Linked DNA regions of Homo sapiens: regions 1 and 3 are each linked to region 2. The links are contacts of gene promoters, found by promoter capture Hi-C in human tissues and cell types (Jung and others, 2019). All regions are on one chromosome and are shown on one strand. The core of a region is centred on a gene start or on the middle of the fragment in contact, and the rest is flanking DNA. Distances in the headings are between cores, read along the strand shown. Region 1 overlaps MCAT (malonyl-CoA-acyl carrier protein transacylase). Region 2 holds the start of POLDIP3 (DNA polymerase delta interacting protein 3). Region 3 has its middle 36 kb from the start of NAGA.

Region 1 (4,448 bases), core at 1,071-3,570, 520 kb after region 2:
CAGAGCAATCTAGCAGAAAACAAATCTCTTTTCTCTAAGGAAGCAACCAGATCACAGGCTCCTCAGAAGCCCAGAATGTACTACGGGAAGGGCCCTGGAGATCAGCTGGCCCTGCCCCTTTACTTTAGACATGGGCTGGCTGGTTGGTTCCAGACCCCATTCTACACGTGGTGGAGCAGGGCAGCATTCTTGCTCCTGCCTGCTTTGCAGCACTCGGTCTACCTCACTGCCCTGGCCCCAAAATACTTCCTAAAGACCGGGCTGGACCCAGCACCCGCCAGACTGCTAGGCCTCACGGGTGTGGAGCAGTTCCAACCCTCCGTACTGGACTGGCCTATGAAGGCAGTTCCCATCAACACCCACCTCTTGGTGTCCTGAAATCACCCTGCAATCTGGAAAGAGGTAGTTGGACACTTCACATACGGGGTTCTCTATGCCTAAAGACTTGCAGTGTTCCCGGGCTTCCAAACAGGCGAAGTTGAACTTGGACTGAGGCTGGCCGAGGACAGACAGCATCCCACTGGGGACAGCTTCTGAAGCTTCCTGCATGGCCTCAGCTCGGATTTTCACTGCATACAAACCTGGCCAGAGAGAAGCGCATTTGGAAAAATGAGGGCACAGAATGAAGGAGAAAAGGCCAGGCCTGAGAAACAAAGCCCAAGCTCCACTCTGCACTAGAGACAGGGGCACTGGTGTCTGCCACCAGCCAGCAGGGCCACAGTTCCACACACCTCCATCGACTGCACAAGCGCTCACCACCAAAAGTATGCTGCTGTGCTTGGCACTATACAAACTAACCCAAGGAGCTTCCTGCTATAAAGCTGGTTTGGAGTAGGACAGTGGTGCTCAACAGGCCGGGGGCAGTGTCCGGAGACGTTTTCCGGTTGTTCTGACTAGGGGAGAGTGCCACTGACGTCTAGTGGGTAGAGTCCAGGGATGCTGCTCAACATGCTGCACTGCACAGGTCAGCCCCCCTTGCCCCCAACAAAACAAATGACCTGGCCCAATAGCGCCACTGTTTTTTTTTTTTTTTAAATAGTGCCACTATTGAGAAACCCTGGTAAAAGGTAAAGAGGAACAGGGTGGAAGCCACATTGCCTTAGCCAAGTCACAACCTCCTTGAGGTTCAAATTTTTAGTTAGTAAAATGAGGATAATAATATCTAATCTGCCTGGGCTGTTGTGAAAGCTGGGAATTATTATTAGTTAGTTTATTAAGAGAGATCAGGCCGGGCATGGTGGCTTATGCCTGTAATCCCAGCACTTTGGGAGGCTGAGGCAGGACGGCTTGAGCCCAAGGAGCTCGACACCAGCCTGAGCAACATAGGGAGACCCTGTCCCTGCAAAAAATAAAATACAAATTAGCCAGGCATGGTGGTGCCTGCCTGTAGTCCCAGATGCTTGGGAGGCTGACACGGAAGGATCACTTGTGACCAGCAGGTTGAGGCTGCAGCTGTAGTAAGCTATGATTGCTCCACTGCACACCAGCCTGGTGACAGAGCAAGACCCTGTCTCAAAACAAGAACAACAAAAAAGAACCATCAGAGACATGGGCTACTGTACTACATGAATTTCAGTGACATAATTGTCATAAGTCAAGTGTTACTGTCCCCACTTAGAGCTGGAGAACCTGACACAGCCAATGCAGATGAACGAAAACCTATGACTCCTGATTCAGTGTGGCTCAAGAGCATGGAGAGAGGGCAGGCAGTGCCAATGATAATAAGAGTGGCCTGAGGGCTGGTCGCTGTGGCTCGCACCTGTAGTTCCGGCACTTTGGGAGGCCAAGGCAGGCAGATCACTTGAGCTCAGGAGTTCGAGACCAGACTAGACAACATGGTAAAACCCTGTCACTACCAAAAATACAAAAATTAGCCGGGCGTGGCAGTGTGCGCCTGTGGTCCCAGCTACTTGGGAGGCTGAGGTGGGAGGATTGCTGGAGCCCAGGAAGTTGAGGCTACAGTGAGCTGTGTTCATGCCACTGTATTCCAGCCTGGGTGACAGAGCGAGACCCTGTCTCAAAAATCCCTACAAAGCCACACATAAGAATGGCCTGAAACTACCAGACCCCTGACACCCTGGTCCTGCTTCCTGGGCAGAGAGAAGAGATGACCAGACTGAGAAGAGATTAAGGGACCTGCACAGTGTTTCACAGGTCAACAGAGAGGTCTAAGGAGCAAATCCTGACATATCTTCATTCACTTAGCACTTCTATGTACTGGACTTTTAGCTCCCTTACACAAGAACAGGAGGACAAATACATAAACAGCCTGTGACATCAGGTACTTAGGAGGCTAAGGCAGGAGGACTGCTTGAGATCAGGAGTTAGAGGCTGCAGTGAGCTATGGTTGCATCACTGCACTCAAGGCTGGAAGACAGAGGAAAACTCTGTCTCTTAAAAAACAAATGAACAAGAGCCTGTGACAAGAAGTAGAAGAAAACATACAAGAAAAGGGAGGAGAGCACGCAGACATCCTCCCACAGAGACATTCAAAACTATGTAAAATGTCAAGGGAAAAAAGTAGGCCAGGCACAGTGGCTAATGCCTGTAAGTAATCCCAGCACTGTAGGAGGCTGAAGCTGGAGGATCACTTGAGTCAGGAGTTCCAGACCAGCCCTGGCAACATAGCGAGACCCCATCTCTACAAAAACTTCTAAAATTAGCTGGGCATGATGGTGTGAGCCTGTAGTCCCAGTTAGTCTGGAGACTGAAGCGGGAGGATCACTTGAGGCCAAGAGGCTGAGGCTGCAGTGAGCTACGACTGCACCACTGCACTGCAGCTGGGGTGACAGAGCAAGATACTGCCTCAAAAAAGAAAAAGAAAAAGAAAACACAAAAGTGTAACTATGCTATAATTCTGCACTTTTTTTTTTTTTTTTGACACAGAGTCTCATTCTCTAACCCAAGCTGGAGTGCAGTGGCACAATCTCGGCTCACTGCAACCTCTGCCTCCTGGTTCAAGTGATTCTTGTGCCTCAGCCTCCCAAGTAGCTAAGATTACAGGTGCACGCCACCACACCCAGATAATTTTTGAATTTTTAGTAGAGATGGGGTTTTACCACGTTGGTCAGGCTGGTCTCAAACTCCTGCCTTAGGTGATCCACCCACCTTGGCCTCCCAAAGTGCTGGGCTGGGATTACAGGCGTGAGCCACCACACCAAGCCTAATTCTGCACATTATGTACACATAAAATGATACATGTAATAAAATTGTTTCATAAAATGTGAAATTATGAAACTTTCCTTAATAATGTTATAACGCTTAAAAAAAAAGCACTGCAGTGAAATTCACATAAAATATAATTAACCACTTTAATGTGTATAATTCAGTGGTATTTGGGGTATTCATAATGTTGTACAACCACCAACTCTCTCTAGTTTCAAACACTCCATGTCCACTATGTAGGCACTCTCCATTTCTCCCTCTCCAGTCCCAATAACCTCTCGTGTTTCTATACTAGATTCTTTTTTGTTTGTTTTGGACAGGGTCTTGCTCTGTCACCCATGCCGCAGTGCAGTGGCACAATCGTGGCTCACTGCAGCCTCAGACTCAGGGGCTCAAGTGATCTTCCCTCAGCCTCCTGAGTAGCTGGAATTACAGATGCATGCCACTAAGTGCAGCTAATTTTGTGTATGTGTGTGTGTGTGACAGGGTGTCACTCTGTCACCCAGGCTGGAATGCAGTGGCACGATCACAGCTCACTGCAGCTTTGACCTCCTGGGTTCAGGTAATCCTCCCACCTCATCCTCCCAAGTACTCGAGCTGGGACTACAGGCGCACACCAACATGCCTGGCTAATTTTTGTATTTTCGGTAGAGATGGGGTTTTCACCATGTTGCCCAGGGTGGTCTAAAACTCCTGGGCTCAAACATCTATCTGCCTCTGCCTCCCAAAGTGCTGGCATTACAGGTGTGAATCACTGCACCCAACGTAATTTTTGTTTTTTGTTGGGGGCAGAGATGAAGGTCTCACTATGTGGCCCAAGATGGTCTGGAACTCCTGGCCTCAAGTGGTCCTCCTGCCTTGGCCTCCCAAAGCACTGGGATTACAGACGTAAGCCATGGTTCCTGGCCAGCAAAAATCTTAAGAAGTAAAACTGATATGGCTCCAGATCCAATATTTATTTACTCTTTAATTCAACGAATATCTACTGAACACATACTCTCGTGTTGCAGGTGCTGCAGGTATGAGTGCACAGGATAGCGGGTTAGACAGTTCAGCAAGCAGATTTCATGAGATTACAAAAATAAGGGAAATCCCTAATGAATCCTTCAGTCTTGAAAAGGAATCACAGCAAAGCCCTGTCCTCATGTGCCAATGTCACCCCTGTCCATGTGCTCCCTTCCCATCACCTGAGTGGGTCCAGTATCATTTTTGGCAGTGTCCCTTACCCCTAATGAGCCCAAGACCACAGCCTTGCATAAAACCAAACTCCTTCCTGTACCTTC
Region 2 (4,218 bases), core at 551-3,050:
ATAGACTACAGTGCAGTCCACCTGCAGTCAGAAACTGGCGGAGTGACCTCAGAGAGAGAAGAACCTGGGGTGGATCATTCTGTCGTTTCCAAAGGAACCTACAAAACGTGGATGGACTTAGAAGTGGCCAGAGGAGCCAGCACCAGCTTCACATCAGTCACTAGATGGAGATCTGAGAGAGCTTTCACAGTCAGTAGTTGAGGAAACAAATACTAATGTGTGCCCGTTACGAACCACAAGCCAGGTAAGTGCTGGCTGCGAATTATGAGGTGGTGGTGGCAGTTGTAGTTGATACAAGTGTCCAGGATGGGGAAGGAGGTGAGGGATACATTTCAGACATCAAGAGAAAAACCTAACCACAGGCATACGGGTGGTATTAATAAACATCTGCGGAATGGCCGGGCCGGTGGCTCACGCCTGTAATCCCAGCACTTTAGGAGGCCGAGGCGGGAGGATCACCTGAGGTCAGGAGTTCGAAACCAGCCTGACCAACACAGTGAAACTTCCATCTCTACTAAAAATACAAAAATTAGCCGGGCGTGGTGGTGCACACCTGTAGTCCCTGCTACTTGGGAGGCTGAGGCAGGAGAATCGCTGGAACCGGGGAGGCGGAGGTTGCAGTGAGCCGAGATGGCACCACTGCACTCCAGCCTGGGCGACAGAGCAACACCCCGTCTCAAAAAAAACATAAAAATAAAAATAAACATCTGCTGAGAGAACAAATGTCTGAGAAAACAATATCTAACATATTTACATCCTGGCTATTTACAAAGACATTTAAACTTAATGTGTGTTGGGAAACTATTGGGCAAAGTTCTCACTTCTTCATACAGATGAACTCAGCTCACGAAGGCTTGAAATGACTAACAACATTTAAGGGTCTAGGGGAAGTTTGGGAGACATGACTGCAAATCACCTCCATGGCTCCTCAGCCAGCTCAAGCACTTTCTTCTCCCTAAGGAAATAACCAATCTCCTGCCCAACACACCAGTTTTTCAAGCCCATGTAGGAGGCCAACTCAGCCAGCAATTAAATCGCGCTCAGCCCGCCGCTCAGTTCTCCGTGGCCTCGGGCAAGTCACTCTACCACTTCCAGCCTCAAGTTCCCCATCAGTAAAAGGTGGGTAACATGAATAGCTAGCAGACAACAGGACTGTAAAAGATTAAATGAGGCATCGTGTATATGAAAGGGCTCAGAAAACTTAAAACGCCGCACAAAGAGAGGCGAGTGTTAACAGGGGCCGCGTGCAGGGGGATTTGGGCTTGCGCCTCAGCTTCGGCGGTCGGAGCAAGTCACTTCCCCGCTACTAAACTTCGGTTGTCTCAACTCTAAGATGGGTGGAGACCAGGCAGCGCCGAGATCACGGAGCGGGGCCCAAATGCCAGTCCACACAGGCAAGGAGGCTGCGCCGCCGAGACCCCAGGACCCCGGAACGCGGGGGCCCCAGGGGGCAGCCCCTCAGGTCCACGAGGCGGCACCCTGTCCCCGCCGCGGCCCCGTCGGCCTCCCAGGGCCGCCAGAGGGACTGCGCCTCGGCCAGTGGGCGGGCGGTCGGGGCCACGGCGGGGACGGCGGCAGCCGGCCAATGAGGAGCGCGGCTGTGGTCGGGGGCGGGCGCACCCGGTCCTCCGCGTCGCTCCCGGATCGCTACCTCCCCCGCCTCGAGCTCCACTAGGCCGAGGACCCTAAACCCCGAAGAAAGGAAAGGCCTCTCACCGTCCTTTCGCCGCCGCCCCGCGCTTCCTGATGAGTTCGTCCAGGGAGATGTCCGCCATCTTGCTCCGCCGAGCAAGCCGAAAGCAGTCGAGACCCCGCGAGCCCGCCCCTTCGGCCGCTAGGGAGCGACGAACTACTTCCGGCGTCCGCGGACCAACTCTCGCGACAGCCAGCTCAAAGCAGGCAAGAACCGGAAGGGGCGGGGACGTTCCCCGTGAGCCTTCGCGGTGCTGGCTGCTCATCTGCATACGGAAGTTCGGCACATTATGAATTATTTATTTTCCTCGAGGGAAAAAATTAAATGAAAAGCAACAAAATACATTATTAACAAGTGAGACAAACTTCAATGGAACTGGATCATGACCTCAACAGTCAACTACGATAGTCATCATACGCCTAATGAGAATAGAATTCATTACCTAGGAAATAAACTAAAAACGTCCTTATGCCTTAAACTTATGAGTAAGGAAAATAACGATTCGGGGTGACGCCCGAATCCTCACTGCTAATGTGAGACGAATTTTTGAGCGGGTAAAGGTCGCCCTCAAGGTGACCCGCCTACTTTGCGGGATGCCTGGGAGTTGCGATCTGCCCGACCTTATTCACGCCTAAAAAGTAGACTGACTGTGGGGTGGTCGTGTTTTTTGTTTCTTGTTGGTAGGTGGTGAATGCGTTTTTTTCGTTGTTTTCTCCGTTACTCAGGCTGCCAGTTGCTTGGCAGTCTTGTCGCTGGCTGTGGACGCTCTGCACTTCATCACCGTCCCCAGCTGCGCTTTGAGCCGGTCTAAGGTTGCCCACAGTATTGACGTTGGGACCCACGAAACTGGCAATTTCCATGTGTGCGGCCTTACCCAGTTCTCCCAAACTTCTGCGTATAACCGCTTCTCTGTGCTTCAGAAAGATAAGTCCGGCCCCGGCCTCACACAGCAGCTCAGTTCGTGACAGCGTTTAATATGTAAAATGGAGCAAATAATTTATAGGGCGTTGGGAGAGTTAAAGAGACTAATTCATTTACGTGTTAAATACAGGGAATGGCTTTTGCATTGATATAACCCCAGCCTCCAGCATGCGCCAGACCTGACGTAGGTGTTCGGCACATATTTTGTCCAATCACTCTAAAAATACACTCCATGCCCTTAGAACAGGTGGGGTTATGTCCTCTTGGCCATCAGGCATCAGGAGCTCCGTGCAGAAACTGGGTAAGAGGCCAGGAGCGGTGGCTCATGTCTGTAATCTCAGCACTTTGGGAGGCTGAGGCGGGTGGATCACCTGAAGTCAGGAGGTCGAGACCAGCCTGGCCAACACGGAGAAACCCCGTCTCTACTGAAAAAAAAAAAAAGAAAGAAAAAAATTAGCCGGGCGCGGTGGCACGGCCTGAAATCCCACCTACTCAGGAGCCTGAGGCAGAAGAATCGCTTGAACTCGGGAGGCGGAGGTTGCGGTGAGCCGAGATCGCGCCATTGCACTCCAGCCTAGGCGACAGAGCAAGACTCCGTTTCAAAAAAAAAAAAAAAAGAAAGAAAGAAAGAAACTGGGTAAGAGCGATCCTGCAATCCTCCTGCCTCAGCCTCCTGAGTAGCTGGGATTACAGGCCCGCCCCACCACGCCGGGCTCCTTCCCAGACCTCTTTTCCTCACCCATAGAACGGGACCATTAAGCCTTTCCTCCCTTCCAGGCGTGCCAGGAGGAACGCGCAAGAGGTGGGAGGAGGACAGGCTGGCCAGTGGGGTCAGCTGGGCAGTGTAGGGCAGATGCGGAGGACAATTTTATTTTTATTTTTGAGACGGTGTCTCGCTCTGTCGCCCAGGCTGGAGTGCAGTGGCACAATCTCAGCTCACCACAGCCTCCGCCTCCCGGGTTCAAGCGATTCTCCTGTCTCAGCCACCCGAGTAGCTGGGATTACAGGCGCACGCCACCACGCCCGGCTAATTTTTGTATTTTTAGTAGAGACGGGGGTTTCACAATGTTGGCCAGGCTGGTCTCGAACTCCTGACCTCAGGTGATCCACCTGCTTCGGCCTCCCAAAGTGCTGGGATTACAAGCATGAGACACAGCACCCGGCCTCCTTTCTTGTTCTTTTACAACTCATTTAGAGCTGTGTTGATTTTTAAAATTCTTCGTATAGGTAGGTGATACTGCCTGTGAATTCTGCAGCGTAAAGGGCCCGTTACAACTGTTATTTTAAAGGTGTTGGCCAGGCATGGTGGCTCACACCTGTGATCCCAGCACTTTGGGAGGCCGAGGAGGGTGGGTCACCTGAGGTCAGGAGTTTCAGACCAGTCTGACCAACATGGTGAAACCCCATCTCTACTAAAAATACAAACAAATTAGCCGGTGTGGTGGTGCACGCCTGTAATCCCCAGGTATTCCGGAGACTGAGGCAATAGAACCGCTTGAACCTGGGAGGCAGAGGCTGCAGGGAGCCAAGATCATGTCACTGCACTCCAGCCTGGGAGACAGAGCGAGACTCCGTCCCAAAAATAATAAATAAAGGTGTCGAGT
Region 3 (4,417 bases), core at 1,005-3,504, 580 kb before region 2:
ATAAACTTTCTTTGAAGCTTCCTAAATGGATTAGAAAGAAGGGGTTCTGTCAAAGGGAAAGGGTCTATACAGATGTGACCAGCAGTTTGATTAGTTTAGATGTATGATTTAGTAGCCAATATAAGAAACTTGTAATTTTTAGTAATTAGAATTTATTATAAATAATAAAACAGGGTATTAATTATTAATATTATGGTATCTTTGGGGTGTCACTTTTCTGGCCAGAAACCTCTGTGGACAAGTGGCACCTCTGCCCAAGTATTGCTTGGGCCCACTGGGCTCATTCCACCCACCCGGCCTGACAGGCTGCACTTGGCTCATGCTACTGGCCTGGATCCCATGCCTGCCAAGGGAGATTGCATGGAGTGACAAGGGGTGTGTGGGGAAGTGTGGGGTCTGGCTATTTTTCAGTCAGATGTGCCAGCTGCTGCAGTGGGGTGGTCAGCTCCAGGTACCAGCATGGGCACCAGCTCTCCACGAGGCTGCAGCTGGACCAGTCGCACTCCAAGCAGCTTCCACAGCTGGCACCAGGGAAAAGGTGGTGCCCAGAAGCTTGGAGATGCCAGGAACCATAGGGCCCCAAAGAGGGAGTCACAGCCCTGGCTTGGAGAGCTCCCAGGTCTGGGCTTCCCAAAGGGCTGCAGCTCTTCTTTTCTTCTCTTTGCCCACAACATGTTGAGCAAGGGGCATGTCTCAACCCTGTTTGTGTTACAGGTCTTTTAGCCTCATTTAGTGGGTCCAAAGTTCTTCAATGAGGTGCACAGACAAGTAGAGGGTGAGCAATGAGAATGAGGTACACAGACAAGTGGAGGGTGAGCAAGACAAACAGGAGCTATTGAGTGACAATAGCTCAGAGGAGGCCTTGGAGTGGGTAGCTCCTATCTGCAGGCAGGTCTTCCTGTCATCTCTGTGGCTCTCAGCAGAGAGGAGGCCCTGGAGTGGGTAGCTCTTCACTGCAGCTCATTGTGCTGATGTCTGCTGCTCTCAACAGAGAGGGGTCCTGGAATGGGTAGCTCCTCTCTGCAGCTGGTCGTCCCAACATCTGCTTAGCTCTGGCTGAGCCCAGGGATTTTATGGGCCTCAGAGGGGAAGAAGTACATATCGATTGGTCCATATGTGGCCATGGGCAGGCCCAGAAAAGCCATCACAAGTTCTCACTCCAGTCCATGGGACTGGCATCCTGGCCCCCAGCTTTCAAGCCCTCCCTGGCCTGAAGGTGTGACGTCACCAGGGACCCATCCCCTTCTACCCAGGAACCTGTCTGCCTCCTTCCGTTGATGGTACCCAGGCTGTAGGTGCCAAGCCAAGCTGCCCTCAGCTCCCCTCAGTTTCCTTCTATGCTCATTGTGCCCAAAATCTGGAGGGGGCCAGGGCGGCAGGGGGCTGGTGTGTCAGCACTGCCCAACTTTGCTCTGAGATCAGAGAAGGCAGGGAGAAGCTAGGCAGTAGGAACAGGCATTTCCATGCCTGCAAGGGCAAGGGGGTATCGGGGGACCTGCCCCAATAATCACGTAGGTTCTTTTCTATTTTCCTAAGCGTCGGCTGACTTGAGAAATAAAAGGACAGAGTACAAAAGAGAGAAATTTTAAAGCTGGGCATCCGGGGGAGACATCACACGTTGGTAGGATCTGTGATGCCCCACAAGCCACAAAAACCAGCAAGTTTTTATTAGGGATTTTCAAAAGGGGAGGGAGTGTGCGAATAGGTGTGGGTGACAGACATCAAGTACTTAACAGGGTAATAGAATATCACAAGGCAAGTGGAGGCAGGGTGAGATCACATTGCTAATGAAGTTTCAGGCACCATTGTCATTGATAACATCTTATCAGGAGACAGGGTTTTGAGATCACCCGGTCTGACCAAAGTTTATTAGGCGGGAATTTCCTCTTCCTAATAAGCCTGGGAGCGCTATGGGAGACTGGAGTTTATTTCACCTCTGCAATCTCGACCATAAGAGACAGGTACGCCCCGGGGGGGCCAGTTCAGAGACCTACCCCTAGGTGCGCATTCTCTTTCTCAGGGACTTTCCATGCTGAGAAAGGAATTCAGTGATATTTCTCCCATTTGCTTTTGAAAGAAGAGAAATATGGCTCTGTTCTGCCCGGCTCACCGGTGGTCAGAGTTTAAGGTTATCTCTCTTATTCCCTGAACAATTGCTGTTATCCTGTTCTTTTTTCAGGGTGCCCACATTTCATATTGCTCAAACACATATGCTGTACAATTTGTGTAGTTAACGCAATTATTACAGGGTCCTGAGACGATACACATCCTTCTCAGCTGACAGGATTAAGAGATTAAAGCAAAGACAGGCATAGGAAATCACAAGGATATTTACTGGGGAAGTGATAAGTGTCCATTAAATCTTTACAATTTATGTTTAGAGACTGCAGTAAAGACAGGCATAAGAAATTACAAAAGTATTAATTTGGGGAACTAATAAATGTCCATAAAATCTTCACAATCCACATTCTTCTGTCATGACTTCAGCCGGTCCCTCCGTTTGGGGTCCCTGACTTCCCGCAACAAGGGGGGCCTTCCTGGGCCCCCAAGAGTGCAAGGATGCCTGGGTCTGCAGCCACGGTTTGGGCAGCTGGAGCTGTGCCTGGGAGGGTGGAGCTCCCACCTGCCCCTCTGGGCCCTGAGAGCACAGGGATGCCTGGGTCTGCAGCCACGGCTTGGGCGGCTGCAGCAGCATCCAGGAAGCTCTCACCCCAACTTGGAAGGGGCGGGTCTCGCGCTTGTCCCTGGCTTTTGCCTTCTCCATGGAGCATGCAGCCCTGGCCATGCCTAGTTGCTGCAGCCAGCGTGATGGCAGCAGCTGCTCCAGATGGCCTGCTGCTGCCATCATTAATATGTAGCTATTAAACACAGTTGGTGAATCACTTTTTTGTCTCTTAAATTATTTTGCAATAATTTAATATTTATGACATACAAAAATTATATATATTTAATGTATACAACTGAATGTTTTTGTGAAACATTGTGAAATGACCATCACATTCCAACTAATTAACATATCTATTACCTGTATATAGTTACCATTTTTATACCCTTTGACCAACATCCTCCATTTCCCCCTCTTCCCAGCCCCTGGCAACCACCATCCTACTTTCTGTTTCTATAGTTTGACTATTTTAGATTCTACATAAAAGGGAGATCATGCAGTATTTCTCTTTCTGTGTCTTGCCTATTTTGTTTAACATAACTTCCTCCAGCTTCATTCATTTTGTTACAAATGGCAGGATTTTCTTTTTTAAAGGCTGAATAATAGTCTGTTTTGTATGTGTGTATAATCACATTTTCTTTATCTGTTCATCACTGAAGGACATTTAGGTTGTTTCCATATCTTGACTGTCGTGCAAAATGCTACAGTGAACAATGGGAGTACAGATATCCCTTTACTATCCTATAGGATTGTTTGATCATATGTTCTATTTTTTTTTTTCTTTGAGACCAAGTCTCGCTCTGTCGCCCAGGTTGGAGTGCAGTGGCGTGATCTGGGCTCACTGCAAGCTCTGCCTCCTGGGTTCACACCATTCTCCTGCCTCAGCCTCCCGAGCAGCTGGGACCACAGGCATCTGCCACCATGCCCGGCTAATTTTTTTTACTTTTAGTAGAGATGGGGTTTCAGCATGTTAGCCAGGATGGTCTTGATCTCTTGGCCTTGTGATCTCCCCGCCTCGGCCTCCCAAAGTGCTGGGATTACGGGCGTGAGCCACCGTGCCCGGCCATGTGTTCTATTTTTAATTTTTTGGGAACCTTCATACTTTTTCCATAATGGCTGTATGAATGTATATTCCTAACAGCAGTGTACAAGGGTTCTCTTTTCTCCACATCCTTGACAACATTTGTTATCTTTTATCTTTTTGATAATAGCCTAAAAGGTGTGAAGTGATATCTCATTATGGTTTTGATCTGCATTTACCTGATGATTACAAATGTTGAACACATTTTCATATGCTTATTGGCCATCTGAATTTCCTTTTTTGAGAAGTGTCTATTTTGGTTCTTGGCCCATTTTTTAATCCAGTTATTTGTATTTTTAGCATTGAGTTGTATGAGTTCCTTATATATTTTGGATATTAATCCCTTATCAGCTATATAGTTTCCAAACATTATTTTCCCATTCTGTAGGTTGCCTTTTCATTTTTTGGATTATTTCTTCTGCTCTGCAGAAGCTTTTTAGTTTGATGTAATCCCACTTGTCTATTTTTTCTTTCATTGCCTGTGCTTTTGGTGTCATATTGAGAAAATTATTACAAGACCAATGTCAAGGTTTTCCCAATGTTTTCTTCGAGGAATTTTGCAGTTTCAAGTTTTACATTTGAGCCTTTTGTCTATTTGAGTTGATTGTTGTGTAGTATGAGATGGGGTCAGATTTCATTTGTGTGTGTGTGTGTGTGTGTGTGTGTGTGTG

The links. Contacts are between HindIII fragments. The study calls those that stand out against the background at their distance.
Region 1: a contact is called between a fragment that was not itself captured here and the fragment with the promoter of POLDIP3 in region 2, in 1 of the 25 tissues and cell types used here (lymphoblastoid cells).
Region 3: a contact is called between a fragment that was not itself captured here and the fragment with the promoter of POLDIP3 in region 2, in 1 of the 25 tissues and cell types used here (dorsolateral prefrontal cortex).

Annotation. Positions count from the first base shown.
Region 1 is chr22:43,136,718-43,141,165 of GRCh38, forward strand. It overlaps MCAT (malonyl-CoA-acyl carrier protein transacylase), which reads right to left. Exons shown (of 4, transcript NM_173467.5): 2 at 4,445-4,448; 3 at 364-581. Among named protein-coding and RNA genes, the nearest start is that of MCAT, 4.5 kb to the right of the region's middle. RefSeq lists an enhancer at 722-891. The HindIII fragment of the contact is 7,455 bases long and covers 1-4,448 here.
Region 2 is chr22:42,613,083-42,617,300 of GRCh38, forward strand. POLDIP3 (DNA polymerase delta interacting protein 3) reads right to left here and starts at 1,801. Exons shown (of 9, transcript NM_032311.5): 1 at 1,717-1,801. The coding sequence starts at 1,775. It overlaps RNU12 (RNA, U12 small nuclear), which reads left to right and starts at 2,162; the gene lies at 2,162-2,311. It overlaps LOC124905127 (a long non-coding RNA gene), which reads right to left and starts at 1,697. Exons shown (of 2, transcript XR_007068118.1): 1 at 1-1,697. RefSeq lists enhancers at 21-564, 1,109-1,652, 1,653-2,196, 1,689-1,868, 1,949-2,008 and 1 more and silencers at 1,289-1,618, 2,159-2,218. The HindIII fragment of the contact is 15,212 bases long and covers 1-4,218 here.
Region 3 is chr22:42,032,744-42,037,160 of GRCh38, forward strand. It overlaps a transcript of WBP2NL not described here. Among named protein-coding and RNA genes, the nearest start is that of NAGA, 36 kb to the right of the region's middle. The HindIII fragment of the contact is 4,997 bases long and covers 1-4,417 here.